2 separate regions of the Homo sapiens genome follow, and region 2 is linked to region 1. Evidence: promoter capture Hi-C in human tissues and cell types (Jung and others, 2019). All regions are on one chromosome and are shown on one strand. The core of a region is centred on a gene start or on the middle of the fragment in contact, and the rest is flanking DNA. Distances in the headings are between cores, read along the strand shown.

The links. Contacts are between HindIII fragments. The study calls those that stand out against the background at their distance.
Region 2: a contact is called between a fragment that was not itself captured here and the fragment with the promoter of SMPD4 in region 1, in 1 of the 25 tissues and cell types used here (bladder).

What each region holds. Positions count from the first base shown.
Region 1 is chr2:130,179,412-130,185,614 of GRCh38, reverse strand. It overlaps SMPD4 (sphingomyelin phosphodiesterase 4), which reads left to right and starts at 4,013. Exons shown (of 20, transcript NM_017951.5): 1 at 4,013-4,085. It overlaps MZT2B (mitotic spindle organizing protein 2B), which reads right to left and starts at 3,353. Exons shown (of 3, transcript NM_025029.5): 1 at 3,163-3,353; 2 at 2,840-2,988. The coding sequence starts at 3,332. RefSeq lists enhancers at 931-1,667, 1,668-2,404, 4,305-5,101 and silencers at 3,098-3,607, 4,118-4,257. The HindIII fragment of the contact is 11,545 bases long and covers 1-6,203 here.
Region 2 is chr2:129,919,475-129,925,677 of GRCh38, reverse strand. It overlaps LINC01856 (long intergenic non-protein coding RNA 1856), which reads right to left and starts at 2,501. Exons shown (of 4, transcript NR_110285.1): 1 at 2,397-2,501. It also overlaps the pseudogene PLAC9P1. RefSeq lists enhancers at 1,565-2,378, 2,379-3,194. The HindIII fragment of the contact is 5,757 bases long and covers 1-5,099 here.

The DNA.
Region 1 (6,203 bases), core at 2,764-5,263:
CACACGTGTGGGGCTCTGCCGACCCCCCTCCTGCTGTAACCCTTGTTACCCCCCTGTGTAACCCTTGCTGCTCTCTGGGCTCTGAAGCCTCCTCCCATCTCCATTGCTAGCGGTTTTTCTTTTTTTTTTTTTTTTGAGACAGGGTCTTGCTCTGTTGCCCAGGCTGGAGTCCAGTCACAAGCTCTTGGCTCACGGCAACATCCCCCTCAGGCTCAGGCGATCCTCCCACCTCAGCCTCCCAAGTAGCTGGGACTACAGATGGGCGCCACCACCATGCCCACCTGGCTAGTTTTTTTTTTTTTTTGAGACGGAGTCTCGCTCTGTCCCCCAGGCTGGAGTGCAGTGGTGTGATCTCGGCTCACTGTAAGCTCCACCTCCCAAGTTCACGCCATTCTTCTGCCTCAGCCTCCCGAGTAGCTGGGACTACAGGCACCTGCCACCACGCCCAGCTAATTTTTTTTGTATTTTTAGTAGAGACGGGGTTTCACCGTGTTAGCCGGGATGGTCTCAATCTCCTGACCTCGAGATCCGCCCGCCTCGGCCTCCCAAAGTGCTGGGATTACAGGCGTGAGCCACCGCGCCCAGCCCTGCCTGGCTAGTTTTTGTATTTTTTGTAGAGATGGGGTCTTGCTATGTTGCCCAGGCTGGTCTTGAACTCCTGAGCTCAAGGGATCCACCTGCCTTGACTTCCCAAAGTGCTGGGATTACAGGTGTGAGCCACCACACTGGTCTCGCTGGTGGTTTTCCTCACTGCCTCTCACTGGGCTCTGAGTGTGATCATCTCACTTCCCTGCCACACCCTCTGCCCTGAGAGCTAGGCCTGGCTCCCAGAGCCCTGAGTGAGTGCTGAGTGAGCAGCAACATCCCCTGGAGTGACAAGGACTCTGTTCCCAGTTTCTCCCTCCTGCTGGACACTTGCCCCTCAATTGCTCATCTCAGCCTGCAGTGCATACACCCCTACTCCAGGCCTGTCCCTCAGCCCCTCTCCACCCTCCCTTGGGTCCGAGCTCTGGGTGGCAGTGAGGTGGGCGCTGTCAGGAAGTGCACGCAGGAGGTGCAACCAAAGACCCCTGGGCTCTCACAGGACCCTGGCTCTGAGCCCCTGATCACACCTGCTGACACCTGGAAAGTGTGCTAACTCAGGAGTGAGGTGGGCAAGGGGGCTGAGTGCTGGAGTGTGGCCACGGGGCCAGCATATGGCATCTGTGTGGCACTGCCCAGGAGACTCTGGGAAGGTGGGAGTCTCTGTTTCAGCCTCCAGACTTCCTGTCCAGATAAGGGACAACTTCTAAGAGGCCGAGGTGTTTGTCACGCCTGGGGCTGTGCTCTCCAGCACAGCACACCGCACTCTGGCCGGCTGTCTTCCCTTGGAGAGGGGCTCTTTACACTCACCACAGTTCGCCTCTGGGGTGTGGGGGTGTTGGTCCTGTCCCCAGATGCCAGCCCGACTGTGGGGTCTAGAGACTGCCACACTATGTCTCTAATAAACCGAGTCAGAAATCGTGCCCTGTGGCTAAGCGGCAGGGCAGCGATGGCCTGCATGGTCCTGCCCTTGGAGCTCAAAGCTGCTTGGGCCTCCTGGGGCCAGGCAGTTTCCATGGAAACAAGGGAGAGCACCAACCCCCAGAGATAAGCCAATAAACGCAACCTGCAAAAGGAGAGAACAGGCAGCAAGAGAGGCGGAGGGAACCCGGGGGGCCTGGAGAGAGAGGCGAGTGTGTGGCAGCCGGGCTGTGGAGCAGAACCGGAGAGGCCGCAGGCTGCGGGCTGGAGGAAAAGGAGGGCCTTGCAGGGGGGCTACTGTTCCTGGCAGAGAGAAAGGAGGCCTCTGGAGGTCAGAGAGAGACACAAAGAGAGCAGACAGAGCGAAGGTCAGTGAAGAGGCCAGCACGCAGGTGCCCGGGCCCTCTTGGGTCAGCGGGTGTGGGTGCCCAGGCCCTGGCACTCCCCCCATGAAGGCAGCCTGCTCTCCACGCCTTCTCAGGATGCCTGTGCGGGTCTCCTCGTGCTTCCAGGCAGGGAGCCAGCTCTGGGCCTTCTTCCATTGGCCTAGGAGGTTGTGCTGCATTTCAGAGAGAGCCATCGGGAGCAGAAGCAACATGCGGAGAGGATGAGCAGGGACAGAGGCTCCACCATGACACTCTCAGTCCCAGAATCTCCTCAGCCCAGTCACCACACTGGAGAGGGAGGAGGCCCTTCAGACCCCGCAGGCCTCTGCACCCTGGGAGTTCCGCGTCTGACTCTCTTCCTGCAGTCATCAGAGGGAAAGCTGACCAGGACTGGCCAAGCCCCTGCGCAGGAACTGGGCCCAGGTGGGGTAAAGGCAGGAAGACCTCTGCCTGCCCTGGTCCCTGGGCACTTCCCTGGATGCTGTATACCACAGGACAGAGATCGAGACTGTCTTTTGAAAAACATTTAGAGACAGGATCTCACCCTGTCACCCAGAGTGGTCTAAAACTCATGGCCTCAAACGATCCTCCCGCCCTGGGGTCCCAAAGATTATAGGCGTGAGCCAGGGCGCCCAGCCCCAAACTGTCTTGATTCCCGACGTTGTAGGATGAAGGCCTGAGTGAAGAGGTGGAGGGGAGCTAAGCGGAGGAGCCCTACCCAGCCTGGACCACCCTGGGGTACGCACTCTGCGTCCACCTGACCTGGACGTGCCTCCTAAGGCTGGCAGCGAAGCCCAGGAGCAGAGCCCACGGATGGGCCCTGCAGGTGCTGGGCCTAGACCGACAGACAGGCCTGGCCACTCAGGGCCACGCCGCCGCTGTGCCGCGCCTGCCCCCTCCCCGCCCGCCACCCCCGCCACTGGGGCAGGGACAGCGGGCCCAGCTCTGACCTCGGGTCTCGGGCACGCTCGACGTGGGCAGAGACACGGCCGCAGGGTCCTGGGGCTCGCTCGCTAGCCTCTGCCCGGCACACATGGACTTGAGCATCTGGAAGACGGCGAGGGGGGCCACGTTCAGCTTCAGCAGGTCCACCAGGATCCTGGCGGGGACAGACGCGGGGCCGGTGAGCCCTCTCCGCCCGGCGCGGCCACCTCCCTGAAGACCCGACAAGGACGGGGGCGGGGGCTCCTCCCGACCAGCGGGCCGGGCGTACCCGGAAAGCAGAGGTCGGGGGGTGTCTGGCTAGCATGCGGCCCCCACCCGCCCCGCTCACTTGAACACGTCGGGGTCGATAGCGCCGCCCGCCGCCTGCGCCAGCTCGTACAGCTCCATCTCCTCGGTGCTCAGCACCTTCTTCCGCCGCAGCGCCAGCTTCTGCCGGGCCGCCTCCAGCCCCGGGGGCGCCGCCGACCCCGGCCCAGGCCCTACGCCCTGCGCCGCCATCCCCGCGGCCCGCGGAAAGGTGCGCTCCGCCCCGCCGCGCCCCCTAGCGGCTGCGCCCACCACCCTCTCCCTGCAGCGTCAACGTCTGGCCTCCCGGGCTGCCCTGGCGGGAGGGGCGGGAGCGCGGGGACGGGGCCGCCTCCGCGGCGTCATTGAAGCCCAACAGTTATTGGGCGCTCACGGTGTGCTGAGCGGCGCTCTAGGAGCCGGGAGTGGCATGGCGGACCGCAGGGGTCCGCTGCTTGGCGATCTGGGCCTCCCTGATAGACTGCATTGGTCGTGCTCGCTTAGGTGGCAGCACCCAGCCCAGTGCCAGGCATACATTGGGCGCTCGGTAAATGCCTCTTTCAAGAAAGCGTGCAATTTTCTGGTCCGCACCGGTGCACCACTAGGGGTCGCTTTTCGGGGCGGGCGGGGGGAAGGGGGGGGCACTAATCAACAATACTGCTTACGCGCACGCGGATTCCTTGCTGGGGAGAAAGTACCTTGGGGCGCCGGAGGCCGCCACAACGCAGGCGCATTCAGCTAAGGACCACTCCCTCCCCCGCACTCCTGCCTCGCCATTTCTCTTCCCCGCCCGGCCGGCCTTCGCTTTGCGCACGCGCCTTTTGAGGTAACGGCCCAAAGAGGTGGAAGCGCTTTTCCCGCCCGGCCGCGGGGCGTGGCTCTGCGCGCAGCTTGATGACGACTTTCGGCGCCGTGGCGGAATGGCGGCTTCCATCTCTGAGGCGAGCGACGCTATGGATCCCACAGGTGAGTGGCGCGGGATGCGCGCCTGAGACGGTCCGGCGCCCTGGGGGCTTCCCCGAGCCCCTGCGGAGGCCATCTCCGTTCCTCCGCGAGCCCCAGGACTCGGGCCGGCCAGCCGGCTCTGCCCAGGCAGGGCAGGCTGGGGAGTGGAGGGCCCCGGTTGAGTCTTCTGCCACCCCTCTGGGCCATGCCTTTGTGCCACCTTCCCGCGCGGCTCGTACACTCTGTCCCGGTCCGGTAGGTGTTCGCTGAAGGTTAACCTTCGTTGAAGGAATTGAGGGAAGGAGAGCTTTGTGTTGAAGTTGAGCCTTGGGCTCAACAGGCGGTGTGGGTGTAAGAGCCGGGTGTGGGTCCCAGCTCGACCCTTCCCCTGTGTGCTCCACATCTCCGAGCCTTGGTTTTGGAGGCTCCCGAAGCCCAATTGGCAGGAGAGTTGGGAACAAGTGGGCGCGTGCTGTTAAGGGAGGTCTTGGCATGACAGAATTTGCTTGGAATGATTAGCGTTGCCCAAGGGCTGTCGCTGTCAGAAAAACAAAACAAAACAAAAAACAAACGGGGTCCGAAGCAGCTCCTGGAGAAAATAGGTGTTGGAGAGTCGCCATGAAGTGGACTCTAGGTGCATGGCACGCAGAGACCTGTGACGGGGGAGGGTGGCCATGGCAGAGTCAGATAACAGGGGTGTGGGAGACACCTCTTGGGAATTCTCGGGTTTGAATTTCCTTTCTTGGAAATTTCCTAGAAATTCCTCTGGGCCTCATTCTTTCAGTCGCTGCCCATGAAAGCTTCTTCTGAGCAGAGATGCTCTCCCCTTCATCGTCTCTAGAGCTCCGCACTTACCGAACAGTCCACAGTTTAATGCTGCTTTGATCATTTTGTAGTAGTGCAGCGTTTTCTTGACCAAGTGCCTTAGGACTGAGGCGTTTTTCTTTAACACTGCAGTTGATAGCTAGGTTAAGAATTGAGGCCGGGAGCGGTGACTCACGCCTGTAATCCCAGCACTTTGGGAGGCCCAGGCGGGTGGATCACGAGGTCAGGAGTTCAAGACCAGCCTGGCCAAGATGGTGAAACCTCGTCTCTAGTAAAAAATACAAAAATTAGCCGGGCGTGGTAGCGGGCGCCTGTAATCCCAGCCACTTGGGAGGCTGAGTAAGAGAATTGCTTGCACCCGCGAGGCGGAGGTTGCAGTGAGCTGAGATCGCGCCACTGCACTCCAGCCTGTGCGACAGAGCCCAGAGCGAGACTCCGTCTGAAAAAAGAAAAAGAGAAAGCTGGCCGGGCGCAGTGGCTCACGCTTGTAATCCTAGCACTTTGGGAGGCTGAGGCGGGCGGATCACGAGGTCAGGAGATCGAGACCATCCTGGCTAACACGTGAAACCCTGTCTACTAAAAATACAAAAAACAATTAGCCGGGCGTGGTGGCGGGCGCCTGTAATCCCAGCTACTAGGGAGGCTGAGGCAGGAGAATGGCGTGAACCCGGGAGGCGGAGCTTGCAGTGAGCCCAGATCGCGCCACTGCACTCCACTCTGGGCGACAGAGCGAGACCATCTCAAAAAAAAAAAAAGGAGAAAAAAGAAAAAGCGGCCGGGCATGGTGACTCACGTCTGTAATCTCTGCACTTTGGGAGGCCGAGGAGGGCTGATCACGAGGTCAGGAGTTTGAGACCAGTCTGGCCAACATAGTGAAACCCCATCTCTACTAAAAATACAAAAATTAACTGGATGTGGTGGCATGTGCCTGTAATTCCAGCTACTCGGGAGGCTGAGGCAGGAGAATTGCTTGAACCAGGGAGTCGGAAGTTGCAGTGAGCCGAGATCATGCCATTGGACTCCAGCTTGGCAACGGAGCGAGACTCCATCTCAAAAAAGAATTGAAAAAGTCGGCACTTTGGGAGGCTGAGGCAGCGGATCACTTGAGGCCAGGAATTTGAGACCAGCCTGGCCAGCATAGGGAAACCCGCCTCTACTAAAAATAGAAAAATTAGGCAGCCTGTGGTGGCAGGCCCCTGTAATCCCAGCTACTCGGGAGGCTGAGGCACGAGAACCGTTTGAACTTTGGAGGTGGAGGTTGCAGTGAGATGATGGAGTGAGACTCAGTCAAAAAAAGAAAAAAGAGGCTGGGCG
Region 2 (6,203 bases), core at 972-3,471, 260 kb after region 1:
TTTGGAAGGACATGTGGTTTCAGGACCACCTTCTAGGATGATGTTTTTATGGGCAGATGCAAGCTTGCTTTGGAATGTCAGGACATCAGGCCAATCCTGCCCTGGGGCCACCTTGTCCAACATCACCCTCCCATCTAGGCTGCCAGGCTGGCGAGCCCCCAATGGACCCTGCCTCCCCTAAGGCCTTACTTACCCCCACCAGGACATTTCAGCATCATTACTGGATGGGAAGGTGGAAATCCAGTCACTGTTTTGTTATATAGCCACGATTCCTAACTTGTGTGGGGAAAAGTTTACATCTTTATTGTCACAAGCCTTTAACTGAAATTGAGCATTCCCATTCATCATAAATTACAGACAGCAAGCCGTGGTGTTAATAGTACTATAACTTTGTCACCAATAGAAATCCAGATAATTTCATCTTCTTCTAGTTATGAATAGAAGAACATTTATATCATTCATTATGTCAAAATTTCAGTTGTTGTTAGGCCTGATGTTAGATCATGTGAGTTAGTGAGTTAATAAATACATTTTTTTTTTTTTGAGGCAGGGTCTCTGTCTGCCGACAAGGCTGGAGTGCAGTGGTGCAGTCTCGGTTCACTGCAACTTCCACCTCCCAGGCTCAAGCAATCCTTCCACCTCAGCCTCCCAAGTAGCTGGGACTACAGGCACATGTGCCACCATGCCTGGCTAATTTTTGTATTTTTTTGTAGAGGCAAGGTTTTGCTATATTGCCCAGGCTGGTCTCGAACTCCTAAGCTCAAGCCATCCACACACCTCAGCCTCCCAAAGTGCTGGGATTACAGGTATGAGCCACTGTGCCCGGCCAATACATATATCCAAATTTTTAAATTTTGTTTTTGATGGAGTCTTGCTCTGTCACCCAGGCTAAAGTGCATGGTACAATCTCGGCTCACTGCCATCTCCACCTCCCAGGTTCCAGTGATTCTCATGCCTCAACCTCCTGAGTAGCTGGGACTACAGGCATGCACCACCATGCCCCGCTAATTTTTTGTATTTTTGGTAGAGATGGGGTTTCACCATATGGCCAGGCTTGTCTCAAACTCCTGATCTCAAGGGATTTGCCCATTTCGGCCTCCTAAAGTGCTGGGATTACAGACGTGAGCCATCGTGCTGGGCCAAAAAGTTTAATTTTAAATATTTGAATTTTTTTTTTTTTTTTTTTTTTTTTGGCAGAGTCTCTCTCTGTCGCCCAGGCTGGAGTGCAACGGCATGATCTCGGCTCACTGCAACCTCCATCTCCCGGTTCAAGCGATTCTCTTGCTTTGGCCTCCCGAGTAGCTGGGACTACAGATATGCATCACCGTGCCCGTTTTCTTTTTGTATTTTTAGTAGAGACAGTTTTCCCACATTGGCCAGGCTGATCTCGAACTCCTGACCTCTGGTGATCCGTCCACCTCGGCCTCCCAAAGTGTTGGGATTATAGGTGTGAGCCATCACGCCTGGCCTAATACTTGAATAATATTTTAAAGCAATTGGTGCTCTTGGTAATTCTATATGTTTTATTTTTTGCATTTAAGGCATTATTCTGAGAAGAGGTCTGTAGGCTTCACCACACTGCCAATGGGGTCCATGGCATACACAGGGAAAAACCATTAAGAACCCTGAGTAAATTTCAAAATCCCAGACCTGTCATTTGGCAGAGACACCACCAGGGAGCAGAATAACAAAAAGAATGTGAGCTCCAGGCTGCAAAGTCCAAAAGGGAGAAGGTAATCTACACGCGCTTTATCCAAACCTGTGACTGAGTGCCAAAAAGGAAGGAGCCTTAGAGAGCGAGCCCCATAGGATATTGTCATCTGGGGAGATTGAGGCAGGTAGGCGCAGAGCCTGAGTGAGGAAAACCCAGGTCCCGCAGCTCCCAGTCCTTTTCCACTGCACCCCACTGGACCGCCAGCTGCTTCTTAGGACCTGGCTAATGAAGCAGAACGTGGCACCACTCCTGTCCTGGACGTTACCCACCTTCTCACTCTAGATGGTAGAGAAGACCGTGGATCACCTGGGGACACAGGTGAAAGGCCTGCTGGGCCTGCTAGAGGACCTGGCCTGGAACCTGCCCGGGGGACCCTTCAGCCCCGTCCCCGACCTCCTCGGAAAAGGTGAGCAGTGCAGGTGGCAGAGGACAGCCTCTGGGCTGCTGTCATCTGGCGCTGTGCAGGCGAGACGGGGACGGCTGCTACGCCGCACAGGTGTAGCCTGGATAGCAGGGAGGGTCCCAGCGCCCCCTGGGGACGGAATCGGGACCGCATCATCCCTGCTCCCCTCCCCTACCACCCCGCCCCCACACCCGGTCGCTGCCTCCCAGCGTCAAATGAGGTTCTGGAAGAGCCGGCCCTAGATGACATCTCAGCACAACCCCGGCGCAGAGAAGCTACCTGCTTCATTGGCCTTCTCACGACTGGAGCTCCTCAGTTCCTTTCATTTCCCCCTGAGGAGCCACTCCTGTTCCACCCCAAAACCGTCGCAGGGAAGACGGGCACCCCCACTGATCAGGCAGGGATGGGGTTGCACTCTGTTCTCTCCTTGATCCCTGTGTCCCTGGCGCAGGAGGAGTTCCCGGGGGCTGGGGAGGGGAGGGAAGGCACTGCTGAGCACCACGGGGGCGGGTACCCTGCAGCACCCCAGCTTGCTCAGTGGAGGCCGCTGCTTTCTTTCAGATGGCTTCTGAGCCCCGGAGCTGGAGCCCAGCAGCTGGAGGTGGTGCACCTGCCAGGCAGCACCCTCTGATAGCCAGCGCTGTCCTCTCGCCTTCCTTCCTCAGCTTCGTGTGAAATAAAAGCTACTGTTTTTGGTCTCCTCTGTGTCTGCTGACAGAGTAACCCGTTTACAGCCCCCTCTCCCTCCACTTCCATGCCTGGGGGAGGCCGGCCACCCCCTCCAGGCTCAGACCTGGGGACACGCCCACTCCCGCCATCTGTGCTTTAGCATTCCCTTATTTATAGGGGCAGATGGAGCAGGGGTTGATTCACAGAGGTGGGGGCCCTTCGAGTGGCCTTGCGTCTCAAAATGTGGCCATAGGTGAGAAGCAAGGGGAGCACGGTCTCAGGACCCACCCGGACTCCTTAATCCAAATCTGCATTGCAATCAGACCCCCAGGGAATTTATGTGTCCATTAAAGAGGTTTGTTGTTGTTTTAAAAAAAATTTCCTATGAAGTGGAATTCAATGTAAAATTCATCATTCTAACCATTTTAAATTGTGTAAGGCTGGGGGCAGTGGCTTACGCCTATAATCCTAGCATTTTGGGAGGCCAAGGTAGGAGGATCACTTGAGCCCAGGAGTTTGAGACCAGCCTGGACAACATGGTGAAACCCCATCCCTACAAAAAATACAAAAATTAGCCTGGCATGGTGGCATGGTGGTGCATGCCTGTAATCCCAGCTACTCAGGAGGCTGGGGTAGGAGGATCACCTGAGCCCTGGAGACCAAGGCTGCGGTGAGCCATGATTGTGCCACTGCACTCCAGCCTGGGTGACAGAGTGAGACCTTGTCTCAAAAAAATAATGATAATAAAATAAATAAATTGTACAAATGCAGTGGCGTCCAGTACATTCAGAAGTTGTGCAGTCATCACCGCCAGTTCCAGAACATTGTTCTCACTCTAGAAAGAAACTCTGTATCTATCAAGCAGTCACATCCCATTCCTGCTGCCCCCCACCCCCCCTGGAAACCACTGATCTCTGTCTCCATGAACTTGCCTCCTCTGGACATTTTAAATACAGTAGTCCTGCTTTATCTGTGGTTTCACCTTCCATGGTTTCAGTTACCTGAAGTCAACCACAGTCCTAAAAGATTAAACTCCAGAAATAAACAATATATGAGTTTTCAATTGCACATCATTCTAAGTGGCGTGATGAAATCCCTCGCCATCCCACTTTGTCCCACCCGGGACATGAACGCTCCCTTTGTCCAGCATGGTCCACGCTGTCTACACTTCCAGCCTGTTAGTCACTTAGGAGCCTTCTCCGTTACCAGGTTAACGGCCACAGTATCACAGTGCTTGTGTTCCAGCAACACTTCATTCACTTAATCAAGACCCAAAGTTCAAGAGCAGTGTTGCTGGCATACGTGGTTGTTTTTCACGTAACTCTCCCTTCACAGAAGCTGGCATATTGTTCTAGTTTTTCTATTTTATTCTTAGCTATTGTTACTAATCTCTTATGGTGACTAATTTATAAATTAAACTTCATAGGTATGCATGCATAGGAAAAAACATAGTATCATAGAAGTAGATACTATTGTAGTTTCAGGCATCCACTAGTGGTGTTGAAATCTATCTCCTGAAGGTAAGGAGGTACCACAGTAAATAGAATCATACAATATGTAGCCTAGCTGTATCTGGCTTTTTCCTCAGAGCATAATGTTTTCAAGGGCCATCTGTATTCTAGCATGTATCAGTACTTCATTCCTTCTTATGGATGAATAATGTTTCATAGTATGAATATACCACATTCTATTTTTTTTTTTAGACAGAATCTCACTCTGTCACCCATGCTGGAGTGCAGTGGCATGATCTTGGCTCATTGCAACCTCTGCCTCCTGGGTTCAGGCGATTATCCTGCCTCAGCCTCCCGAGTAGCTAGAATTATAGGTGCGCACCACCACGCCTGGCTAAATGTTGTATTTTTGGTAGAGACAGGGTTTCACCATGTTGGTCAGGCTGATCTCGAACTCCTGGCTTCTTGATCCACCTGCCTCGTCCTCCCAAAGTGCTGGAATTACAGGCGTGAGCCACCACACCTGGCCCACATTTTATTCATTTATTCGTCAATTGATGGACATTTGGGTCGTTTGGACTTTTTGGCTATTATGAATATTGGAGAATGTTCCATGTGTGCTTGAGAAGAACATGTACTCTGCAGCTGTTGAGTGGAATATTCTGTAAATGTTTGTTAGGTTCTCTAAGTCTATAGCTTTGTTCAGGTGCACTGTTTACTTATTGATTTTCTGTCTGGATGTCTTCTATCCATTATTGACAGGGGAATATTAAAGTTTTTCTACCATCATTGTATTTATGTTTATTTTTCTTTTCATTTCTGTCAATGTTTGCTTTACATATTTAAATGTGCTGATGTTGGGTGCGTATATTTATGATTGTTATATCTTCCTGATGAATTTATCCTTTTATCATTTTAAAATGTCTTTCTTTGTCTCTTGTGATAGTTTTAGGCTTAGAGTGTATTTTGTCTGCTATAAGTATGTCCATCCCCACCCTGTTTTATTTAGTATTTGTATGCACTTATATTTACTGCACTTATATTTAAAATAATTATCCTAGGGAAGGACTTACTATTGACATTTTGTTAAACATTTTTTAGTCTGTGTGGTTCTTTTGTTTCTTTTTTTCTCTGTTGTTGCCTTTGTGTTTCATTGGTTTTTTTGTAGTGATATGTTTTGATTCCTTTCTCTTTTCTATTGTGTATCTTCGATAGGTATTTCTTTTATGATTATCATGAGGCTTGTATAAAACATAGTTATAACAGTCTATTTTAAGCTGATAACAACTCAATTTTGCTTGCATTAAAAACCCTGTATGTTTACTTCTCCCCACCCCATACTTTGTTTTTGATGTCGAAATTTATACATTTATATTGTCTCTACTCACACTTTTTGTAGTTATAGTTATTCCTAATAGTTTTGTCTAATTTTTGTACTGAAATTAAGTGTGATTTTTATACCACCTTTATAGTATTACAACATTCTGTATTTGTCTATGTATTTGCTTTTTCCAGTGAGTTTTATGCATTTATTTGCTTTATGTTGCTGTTTAGCATTCTTTTTTTTTCAACTTGAAGAGATTCTTTAAGCATTTCTTGTAAGGCAGATCTAGTGGTGATGGATTCCTTCAGCTTTTGTTTGCCAGTGAGTATCTCCTGTTCATTTTTGAAAGATAAGTTTTCTGGATATAATATTTTCAGTGGGCACCATTTTTCTTTCAATGTTTTAAATATATTACCTTACTTCTTTCTGACCTGCTAGGTTTCTGCTGAGAGACCCACTGATGGTCTCCTAAAGGTTCCCTTGTATATGATGAGTTGCTTTTTCCTTACTGCTTTCAAAATTCTCTTTGTCTTTGAATTTTGAAAATTTGATTATAAATTTATCTCAGATTTCTTTGGGTTCTTCCTATTTCGGATCCTTTGGGATTCATGAATCTGGAGGTCCATTTCTCTTTTGAGGAGT